3 separate regions of the Homo sapiens genome follow, and regions 2 and 3 are each linked to region 1. The links are contacts of gene promoters, found by promoter capture Hi-C in blood cells and fetal thymus (Javierre and others, 2016). All regions are on one chromosome and are shown on one strand. Each heading gives the region's core, a stretch centred on a gene start or on the middle of the fragment in contact. The rest is flanking DNA. Distances are from core to core; before and after follow the strand shown. Region 1 holds the start of CCDC171 (coiled-coil domain containing 171). Region 2 has its middle 25 kb from the start of TTC39B. Region 3 has its middle 55 kb from the start of TTC39B.

What was found. The method cuts DNA at HindIII sites, captures the fragments that hold promoters and counts their contacts. A CHiCAGO score of 5 or more calls a contact.
Region 2: a contact is called between a fragment that was not itself captured here and the fragment with the promoter of CCDC171 in region 1, in 6 of 17 cell types (non-activated CD4 T cells, naive CD4 T cells, activated CD4 T cells and 3 more). The highest score is 6.9, in non-activated CD4 T cells.
Region 3: a fragment that was not itself captured here is called in contact with the fragment with the promoter of CCDC171 in region 1 in 1 of 17 cell types (non-activated CD4 T cells); the score reaches 6.6 in non-activated CD4 T cells.

The regions. Positions count from the first base shown.
Region 1 is chr9:15,551,336-15,554,577 of GRCh38, reverse strand. It overlaps CCDC171 (coiled-coil domain containing 171), which reads right to left and starts at 1,535. Exons shown (of 26, transcript NM_173550.4): 1 at 1,276-1,535. RefSeq lists enhancers at 1,228-1,397, 1,293-1,938 and silencers at 1,678-1,767, 1,778-1,837. The HindIII fragment of the contact is 6,396 bases long and covers 1-2,866 here.
Region 2 is chr9:15,330,325-15,333,566 of GRCh38, reverse strand. No RefSeq gene overlaps it. Among named protein-coding and RNA genes, the nearest start is that of TTC39B, 25 kb to the right of the region's middle. The HindIII fragment of the contact is 2,334 bases long and covers 287-2,620 here.
Region 3 is chr9:15,360,435-15,363,676 of GRCh38, reverse strand. It overlaps the pseudogene RPL7P33. Among named protein-coding and RNA genes, the nearest start is that of TTC39B, 55 kb to the right of the region's middle. The HindIII fragment of the contact is 1,097 bases long and covers 1,046-2,142 here.

The DNA of each region.
Region 1 (3,242 bases), core at 286-2,785:
CTTCCTCCTTATCTGACAGATAAAGAACCTAACGCCTAGGAAGGTTAGGTGGTTTGCCTGTGGGGACGCAGCTCATAAATGGCTGAGCCCCAAGACTAACACAGAAAGCTACAAACTAAGACTATGCCCTTCATCTTTCCTCTTAGCAGGTTGCACTGCCTTTGTTTCCTCTGCATTTTATGAAAAACCATGTTCATCTTCTGCTCTACCACTGTTTTGTTGAGAGTAGGAACTAACAGTTAAATAAAATAAGTGACATGCCGGGCGCAGTGGCTCACGCCTGTAATCCCAGCACTTTGGGAGGCCGAGGCGGGCGGATCACGATGTCAGGAGATCGAGACCATCCTGGCTAACACAGTGAAACCCCGTCTCCACTAAAAATACAAAAAAATTAGCCGGGCGTGGCGGCGTGCGCCGGTTGTCCCGGCTGCTGGGGAGGCTGAGACAGGAGAATGGCGTGAACCCGGGAGGCGGAGCTTGCAGTGAGCCGAGATCGCGCCACTGCACTCCAGCCTGGGTGACAGAGCAAGACTCCATCTCAAAAAAAAAAAAAAGTGACAAAATCGTATGTTCTTTTCTCCAATATTATGAAAACCATAAAACATCGGTATGTCATGTATTCAAAAGAGCTGGACACCAACTCTAATAAACAAAATAAAGACGTATTTATCTCATTTACCTAAAATGTATACATGAAATATGTATTTTCTTAGGATCAATATCATAATGGAATAAAAAAATTCAAAAAGTCGGCTCCATTTCTGCAGAAAATTTACAGCTTCGGGAAAACGCACAGCTGACTCAGATTCTAAGTCTCTCAGAGTCCTGGAGGGTAGGTAGAAGCTGCAGGTGACAGTCTAGCACAACTCATTCCCGTTTATCAAACATCTGTAGAGTGTCTAGTGTGTGGCCGGCATTTAAAAAGGGGAGAGCGGGCTGAAAGACGTGGTCCCTATCCTCGAGGGGCTTACTGATTCTCGGGAACGAAAGCGCTCCGCAGCAGTAACCCTAAGAAGCTCCAAATCCCGGTCCTCTGCCTCCCCTCTGGTCCCCATCCGGCGCTCTGGTACAGCCTCAGCGATCTCTGGCTAGGATGCTCCACGGAGATCTTCCTCCAGGTGGGCGGGGAGACCCAGCCCAGGGAGCTGGAGGCGTGCCCCAAAGCCTACGCCAACAGCCCCAGGGCCGCCCCAAACTCACTCAGGGGCCCCTACAACCCTCTCAACACCTCCCTCCCAAGTCGTCCGCCTCGAAGCCCCCACACCGTGCGGTTACCTCAGGGGTCTCGCGTGATCCGTGCTGCACACCCAAGACCCCAGGGGCCGCTCCAAGTCTCACGGGTGAAAGGAGGCCCAGGCAGCCCACGGGAATAAGAGCAAAAACTGTTGGAACACGACGGACTCCAGGACCCGGGAGGAGGGGGACAAACAGCAAAGGGGTACAGAAGGGGAAGAGCCCCCGGGAGGTGAAGTTTACAACTGCCACTTCCGGAGCTGAAAACACTCCGCTTCTCTCGCAGACCTTCCCAGACTTTCACAGGTCAGCCCAACTCAGGCCCGGCCCCACTTTTTCCTCCCGCCTCCCGCAGCCCTCAGCTTGCAGCTCCTGGATACGTACTCCGAGAACGCTGGCTCGGATTGGAAGAGCCCGCCCGCCAAGCAGCGCGCCTTCGCTGAGGGACGAACGGGCGCATGCGCCGTTGCTGGGGAGCGGCGGGCTCGCGACCGCACGCGCTCTCGCTCCAGGAGCTCCGCGTCCCCGCGCGGGGGTGCGCCCTGCCCACGCGCTGCTGTGGCTTTTCAGCGTGAGGTGTCCGCGTTCCTGTCTCAGTCGCCAGAGCCGAGTGGAAATGCAGATTTCCAGCTTCTAACCCCTTTTCCCTGCCTGCTGAATAAAAACCTAAGAGGTCGGATCCCAGATCCTGCTTTTTGAAACTGGTTCTTCTGCCCATCTTTAGAGCCACAGCAACGGTGGGCTGGTCCCGGGGCCTGGGGAGAAATTCTCTGGGCTCGGGTTCTGCCCAACTGCCTGGTTTACCTCTGTCTGGACAGCTCTCTGCCTGCACAGGGCATCCTGTCCCCTCTTCCCGTCCCCATTGTATCCCAGCTGGGAGTGGTGAGCAGGGTCGGAAGAATGCATTGATGCTGCTTGCAGTGCGTTTCATTATCAACATTACGTAACCAGGCACATCGTGGAAAACGCCTCGGAGCCTTAGCATGTGTGTTCCCTATCTCTTTCCTCGCTTCTCTCACTTTTCTCTGACACACACACACACACACACACACACACACACACACACACACACACCGTCCTCTTATTGATAATTTATACTTTGGTTCCTCCCGGTGGCTGCTTCACAATCTGCTGCCGCCTAAGGGAGACTGGAAAACCAACTCCTCTTTTGTTCCTTAACTTTTGAAAGCCTATTCTTCCAGAGAACAATGCAAATTGACAGGATTTGGTCAAAGATTTTTATCTTCACCACCACCACCTCCTCTGCACAAAAAGGTGTTTAATGCAAAACGAGCCTTCTATACTAAACTGGGTCCTTGTTGATTGTAATCAACCTGAAACCAGGTGTAGGGGCCGTCTTTTCTCTCTCCCATGGGAGAGCCAACGGTCATAAATGCAAACACAAATTGAGATTAAAACCTCCTTGATTCTTGTAGCACTGAAACCTTAATTGGTTTGATTTTAGTCATTTACATCTAAAACGGAGGCCTGTCCCTGATTCTTTTTACTAGAGCCATAAAGAGGACAATTGCTCCAGAGGAAATAAAGGGAAAAAATAGCCCACTCTAAAGTTTAGAAATGAAATGGAAAATTACAACTGACTAATGAGATTAGAACTTTTATGTTACAAGCTTTAAAAAATATTTTTAAATTTTATTTTTTTCTTTTTCTTTTTTTTTTTTTTTTTTTTGAAACAGGGTTGTTCTCTGTTGCCCAGGCTAGAGTACAGCGGCACAATCACGCCTCGCTGCAGCCTAGACCTTCAGGACTCAAGCCATCCTCCTGCCTCAGCCTCCTGAGTAGCTGGAACTACTTAAAATTTCATTTGTGTTGGCCGGGCGCGGTGGCTCACGTCTGTAATCCCAGCACTTTGGGAGGCCGAGGTGGGCGGATCATGAGGTCAGGGGACCGAGACCATCCTGGCTGACACGGTGAAACCCTGTCTCTACTAAAAATACAAAAAAAATTAGCTGGGCGTGGTGGCGGGCGCCTGTAGTCCCAGCTACTCG
Region 2 (3,242 bases), core at 204-2,703, 220 kb after region 1:
CATTAACAGCACGGTGGACTTTACTGAGGTTTAAAATTCCTGGTCCTTCACTTGCTCAGATTCTGTGGGTGCTGGGACTTACAGAGAGTTAAAGGGTGACCTAAGCGGAAGGGGAAGCCAGATTGTAAGCAGGATGCATCCATATAAAAGCATTTATGATAAATTGCCTAAAGAGATGTCACAAGTAAGGGACCTGAATCTCCTAGCCTCTGGTAGTTGGTAGTTTGTAGTGATTTATTTTCTCACTGCAAATGGTCATTTTAATAACTACTCTATTTCTGAAGCTTCTTGCTGGTACTGGTGCCTCTGCCTGTCCTGGCATCCAGGTCACATTTGTAGATTCTTTTTACCTGTCTCTAGATCCAGCGAGCAGTTGGCATCTGGTATCCAGGAGATGGCACAGTGTGGCAAAAAAAAGCTCTGTACACATTTATACAGCACTTATTGCAGCACAAATTGACACAATCTTTCTGCAGGCAATTTAGCCAGATATAAGTCTTGCAAAATTTATACTTGTGTAAGAGATAGGTCTGGGTTCAGCTTCAAATAACTGAAACCCCAAATAATAATGGTTTAAAAAAGATGGTTATATCACTGTCATGCGAAATTCCAAGAGTGGTCCAGAGTTGTGATGTGTGTGAGCTCCAAAAGGGACTTGGTTTTCTTCCAGTTCAATCATGAACCAAGATGAGAGAACTACTTTCCCGGGAGCAGGATGGAGTGTATCCAATGAAGAATGTGTCCAATGGAGAAACAAAGGCCACATAATACCTCTGTCTAAGGAAGGGACCTGGAAGCTGCCACATAATAGTTTTGCTCATATCTCACTGAGGAGACTTCAATCACATAGCCACTCTTAGCTGCAAGGGACACTGGAAAATGTAGTCTACTCCTGATGGTCATGTGTCTGGCTAAAACTTTTGGAAGAAGGGAGAAAGAATAATAGGGAACAATTAATACTGTTCTGTGCCTTGCCTATTTTACTTTATATATCTTGGCAATGATTCAATGTTAGTACTTAAGGAGAATCCTTATTTTTATTATTTTTTAATTTTAATTTTTTTTTTTTTTTGAGATGGAGTCTCGCTCTGTCCCCCAGGCTGGAGTGCAGTGGTGCCATCTTGGCTCTCTGCAATCTCCGCCTCCTGGGTTCAAGCGATTCTCATGCCTCAGCCTCCCGAGTAGCTGGGACTACAGGCATGCACCACCATGCCTGGCTAATTTTTTTTTGTATTTTTTGTAGAGACGGTGGTCTCACTATGTTGCTCAGGCTGGTCGCGAACTCCAGAGCTCAGGCGATTTGCCCACCTCAGCCTCCCAAAGTGTTGGGATTATGGGCGTGAGCCACTGCACCTGGCATTTTTATTTTTATTTTTTAAGGCTGAATAATAATACTCCATTGTTTTATAGTATCAACAATTCTTTTATTTTTTTTTGAGATGTGGTCTCATGCTGTCACCCAGGTTGGAGTGCAGTGGCTGATCTCGGCTCACCACAACCTCCACCTCCCAGGCTCAAGCGAGCCTCCCACCTCAGCCTCTCAAGTAGCTGGGATTACAGGCATGCACCACCATGCCCAGCTAATTTTTGTACTTTGTTTGTAGAGATGGGGTTTCACCATGTTGCCCAGGCTGGTCTTGAATTCCTGAACTCAAGCCATCCATCAGTCTTGGCTTCCCAAAGTGCTGGGATTACAGGCACAAACTACCACACCTGGCCACCAATCCCTCACTGATGGATGGTTTCAGTAGTTCCCAAATTTGCGTTGTTAAAAATATCACTGCAATGAGTAACCTTGCACATAGGTAGTTTCACATATATGTGAGTATATCTGTAGGATAAGTTCCCAGATGTGGAATTGCAGGAAATTTGTAATTCTGGTTGATTATTGCTAAATTGCCCTCATTAGAATTGTTGCAATGAAAAGCTCAGTATCGGTCGGGCAGAGTGGCTCACACCTGTAATCCCAGCACTTGGGGAGGCTGAGATGGGAGGATTGCTTGAGTCTAGGGGTTCAAGACTGGTGTGGGCAAGACCCCATCTCTAGAAAAAATTTAAAAACTTAGCCAGGTGTAATGGCGCATGTCTGTGGTCCCAGCTATATGGGAGGCTGAGGTGGGACGATCACTTTAGCCCAGGAGATTGAGGCTGCACTGAGCTGTGTTCATGCCACTGCACTCCAGTCTGGTTGACAGAGTGAGACCCTGTCTCAAAAACAACAACAACAACAACAACAACAACTCAATATCAACAATAAGCCTTTCCAACATAGCATTTTATGAAACTTTTAAATCTTTCCCTGTCTCGTAGGTAATATGCAATTTTACAAATGAAAAATAGTGCTATGATTAAAAACTTAAGAGTAGCAGAATATGCAAACCCAAAATATGCCACTTTGGCATGAAGATTATTTTGAGCTGAAGGCAACTGAGAGGAAGCAGATACAAGAAAAGTTCTCTGCCCTTCCTTTACTTACCTAAAAGCAAGAAGTGAATTTGTAAAGGTGTCCTCTTGTCCCAGGAAGGATAAAAGGTACAAACAATTTTAAACTCTTGTTACTTTTTGCTACAGTGTTTTCCAGAAAGATGTGCTAATTTTCTCATTCCCATCTAACAAAGCTTAAAAAGAGATTAAATAGATTGTAAAGAGGTAAGGTGCAGTAGGTAGGAAGATAGCTTTTAACACACCGGAGTTTGAGTTGGATTCTTTTAGAGCCTCTGAATAGTATTGTTTTTTATTTTTATTTTTTAAATAAATCAGTTGGTTGCCTTGGCTGAACACAACAGTTTCACTTTTTTCCTTGCAGTGAGTGGCAGAATTTTAGTTTGGTTATTTTAACCTTATCTGGGCAGCTTGGAGTTGGCATATGTGCCTGGTTCAGACGTCAGCCAGGTTCAGCGAAAGGGTAATACCCAGAGAAGTTGAAGCTTCTCCTCTCTACCTCTCCCTTTTCCTGGATTTCTCTTCTCAGTTTCCAGCTGCTATGGTTTCTCTGAACTCTGTCCTTGGATTCTTTGAACTAATAAACTGCACCTGGTCTGTGCCTTGGTGCACAGCTCTCAAACCCCTCAGAATGTGCCTTTTTTGGGTCTCTCTCCAGTCTGGTTGCTTTTGGGTTTTTTTTTGTTTTGTTTTGTTTTTGTTTTTTTTTTGAGACAGTGTCTCGCTCTGTCACCCAGCCTGGACTGCAGTGGCGCGATCTCGGCTCACTGCAAGCTCCGCCTCCCAGGTTCACGCCATTC
Region 3 (3,242 bases), core at 345-2,844, 190 kb after region 1:
CACCATCTTGGCTCACTGAAACCTCTGTCTCCCGGGTTCAAGCGATTCTCTTGCCTCAGCCTTCTGAGTAGCTGAGTTTACAGGCACCCAGCACCATGCCCAGCTAATTTTTGTATTTTCAGTAGCATTTTTCACCATGTTGGCCAGGCTGGTCTCGAACTCCTGACCTCAGGTGATCCACCCATCTCGGCCTCCCAAAGTGCTGGGATTACAGGCGTGAAACACTGTGCCCTGCCATGAGCATCCTTTTAATGAAAAAAAGTTATATATATATATATATATATATATATATATATATATATATATGGACTTTTTAATGTAAACATAGTGTCTCTAGTCCCAACTTCTCAGGAGGCTGAGGCGGGAGAATTGCTTTAATCTGGGAGGAGGAGGAGGTTGCAGTGAGCCGAGATGGTGCCACTGCACTCCAGCCTGGGCGACAAAGCAAGACTCTGTCTCAAAAAGAACAAAAATAGGAGATGGTGAGAAAAAGAAGATGGCCAGAAAGCATGAAGAAATGAAATGTGCCCTGAGGTTTAGTCTAGATATTTTGATATTGGAAATATATTAATATATCTGATCATATGGGTAGATCTGAAGAAAAACCATAAAATGGTCTCCATAGATGCTGAAAATACATTTGGCCAAATTTGACAACCATGCTTGATAAAAATATTGACTTAGGTAGATATAGATGGATATTTCCTTAACATGATAAGATAAATTGATCTCAGCTCAACATCGTGCTTAATGCCAGAATTTATAAACATTTCCAATAAAGTGAGGAATAAGATAAAAGATGTCCGTCGTCACTGCTATTATTTCACAAGGTGCTGAAGGTTTTAGCCAATGCAATTAGACAAGAGACAGAGACTAGGAGTATAAAAATTGTGAAAGGAGAAGGTAAAACTATCACTACTTGCATAAGTTATTATTGTAAACTTAAAAGTTCTTGAAAGAAGCAGAAGAAATACCTTTAAAATCTTGCAGTTAGGAAGACCTTTGCAACTATGCCTTAAAATCCTAAAGTCACAAAAGAAAAGCTTGATAAATTTGACTATATAAAACAGAAACTAGCACAAAAATAAAACGAAAAGGCGGGGAAAAGAAGTATATAAAATAAAAAGAACTGGGGAATCACATTTGCAACTCATATTCTGTCTCTGTAAGAACAACAGCTAAGTAATGAGTAAAGAATGTGTACACCTGGAAGGTTGGCAAAAATCCTAAGATTGGACAATTTAGGGGCCAAGAGCCCTCTGAAGTTTCGCTGAAAAATTAACTTGCAAAAGGCAGATTATTTGGATAAAAGGCGTGCAAATGTATTTAACATGTTTATATGGGAGCTTGAACCCGGGAGGTGGAGCTTGCAGTGAGCAGAGATGGCGCCACTGCACTCTAGCCTGGGCAGCAGAGTGAGACTTCGTCTCAAAAAAAAAAAAAAATACAGGGGAAATTGTTCATTTTTTTTCTTCAGTTTGAGAGCAAGTACTGTTTATTAACTGACCTGATTAGAAAAATAATCATGGTAGACACCTTAGTTCATTCTTCTAAGAAGCCTGTTAATCTGGTCCTCCCTGTTGCCAGCATCTCCACCTTCTACAAAATAGATGGTCAGTTTCTTCATTCCACTTCTTGGAGAAGATAATTTGAAGGGCCACAGGAAGCTATTTGCTTCTTTGAAGCATTTTCCAACAGTATAGGTCTCATGAATCAGATCCTCCAGGCAGATGGTGCCATATTTACCAAGAGATTGAGCAATCAAAGCGTTTTCTATCAAAGCAATTTGCTTCTTACTGATTTTGCCATAACCACGCTGGTAGATTAGTTCATTTACTGACTTCAGATTTGGGTACCTCCATGCAATGTATGGCTCTACAATCCACAGCATGTTAGTTGAAGCCTTGTTGAGCTTCACAAAGGTTCCATTGAAGATTTGATGAAGGCAAAGAAGCTGCAACACCTTTCGGACCTTTGTGCTCACACCATTGATACCTCTGAATCTGATGACAAACACCAATTTGGGTTCTGCAGGCACATAGACGTTGCCAGCTTTTCTTGCCATCCTCACCATTCGAATTTCAGTTCTGTACATCTGCCTATATTCCTTGTGATAGTGCTTCACTTTTTCATAGATAAGCTTCCTTTTTGCCTTTCAAAATATCTTTTGGGCAAACTTCTTTCTCAGGCGCTTGATCTTCAGTTCTGCGAAATTCCTTTGTTTTTTCTTAAGTTTCTGACACAGCGGGAAGCTGCTGCTGCTTCTCTTCGACACCCTCTATGGTTCTAGCTAGAAAAGAGGAGAAACTGCCCATTTTTATGCTTAGGTTCAACAATGTATGATCGGCCATGTAGAAAAATGATTGGACAAAAAGGGTCTAATCTAATGCTAATAGAATGAGTGGGGAAACCCAGCAAGGCCTCTCTGTCTAGATTCTTCTCGGCCTTCCTGAGCATGCATTCCTTCCTTCTGAGTATGGGGAAAGATCTCTCTGGATTGGGGGCCTTTGGGCCTACAGTCAAACAAGGTAGGTCAGATAATTTTTTTTATGGCCAGATTTTAGAAAGAAAGGCAGATGGAAACTTAGAGTAAGATTTTTAGGTTTTATGGCTGATTGGGGAAAAAGGGTTCTGGTTTCTATGGGGAAAAGGGGTACTGGTTTCTATGGCCCACCTTGGGGAAGAAGGATTCTAGTTTCTAGAATTCTAGTTTTCTAGAATTCTAGTCTTGAGGGAGAATGGGACTGAGAGATAGGAGGGTAGGAGAAGGTCAGAAAAGAACTTTTGCTTTTGAGGCCTTCATTTTGGTGTATTGTTTTCTGAGCACCAGCAATGACATTCTATGGATGCGTCTGTGTGGAACTGGACATTCTTGTATGTTGCTGGTGGGAGTCCAACTGGTAAAATGTCTATGGGTAGAATTTGGTAATAGCTATCAAAATTACCAGCACAGCCGTTCACCCAGAAATTTCACTTCTAGCAATATATGAGACAGATGTTCTTACATATGTTTAAGAAAGTATCTGTACGAGGTTACTTATTGCAGCATTACTTGCAAAAGCAAAGGGTAGAAAACAACCAAAGGTCTATCAGTGGCAGATTCATTAAATACCTATATACATATGTCAAATAAAATGAAATAAAAAAAAGTTTAGAAGCCGCCTATGTGCTGTTATGCAAAAGCCTTAAAATATATTGTACATGAAAAAGACAAGATGGAGAACACGTTTTTGGAAAAAATT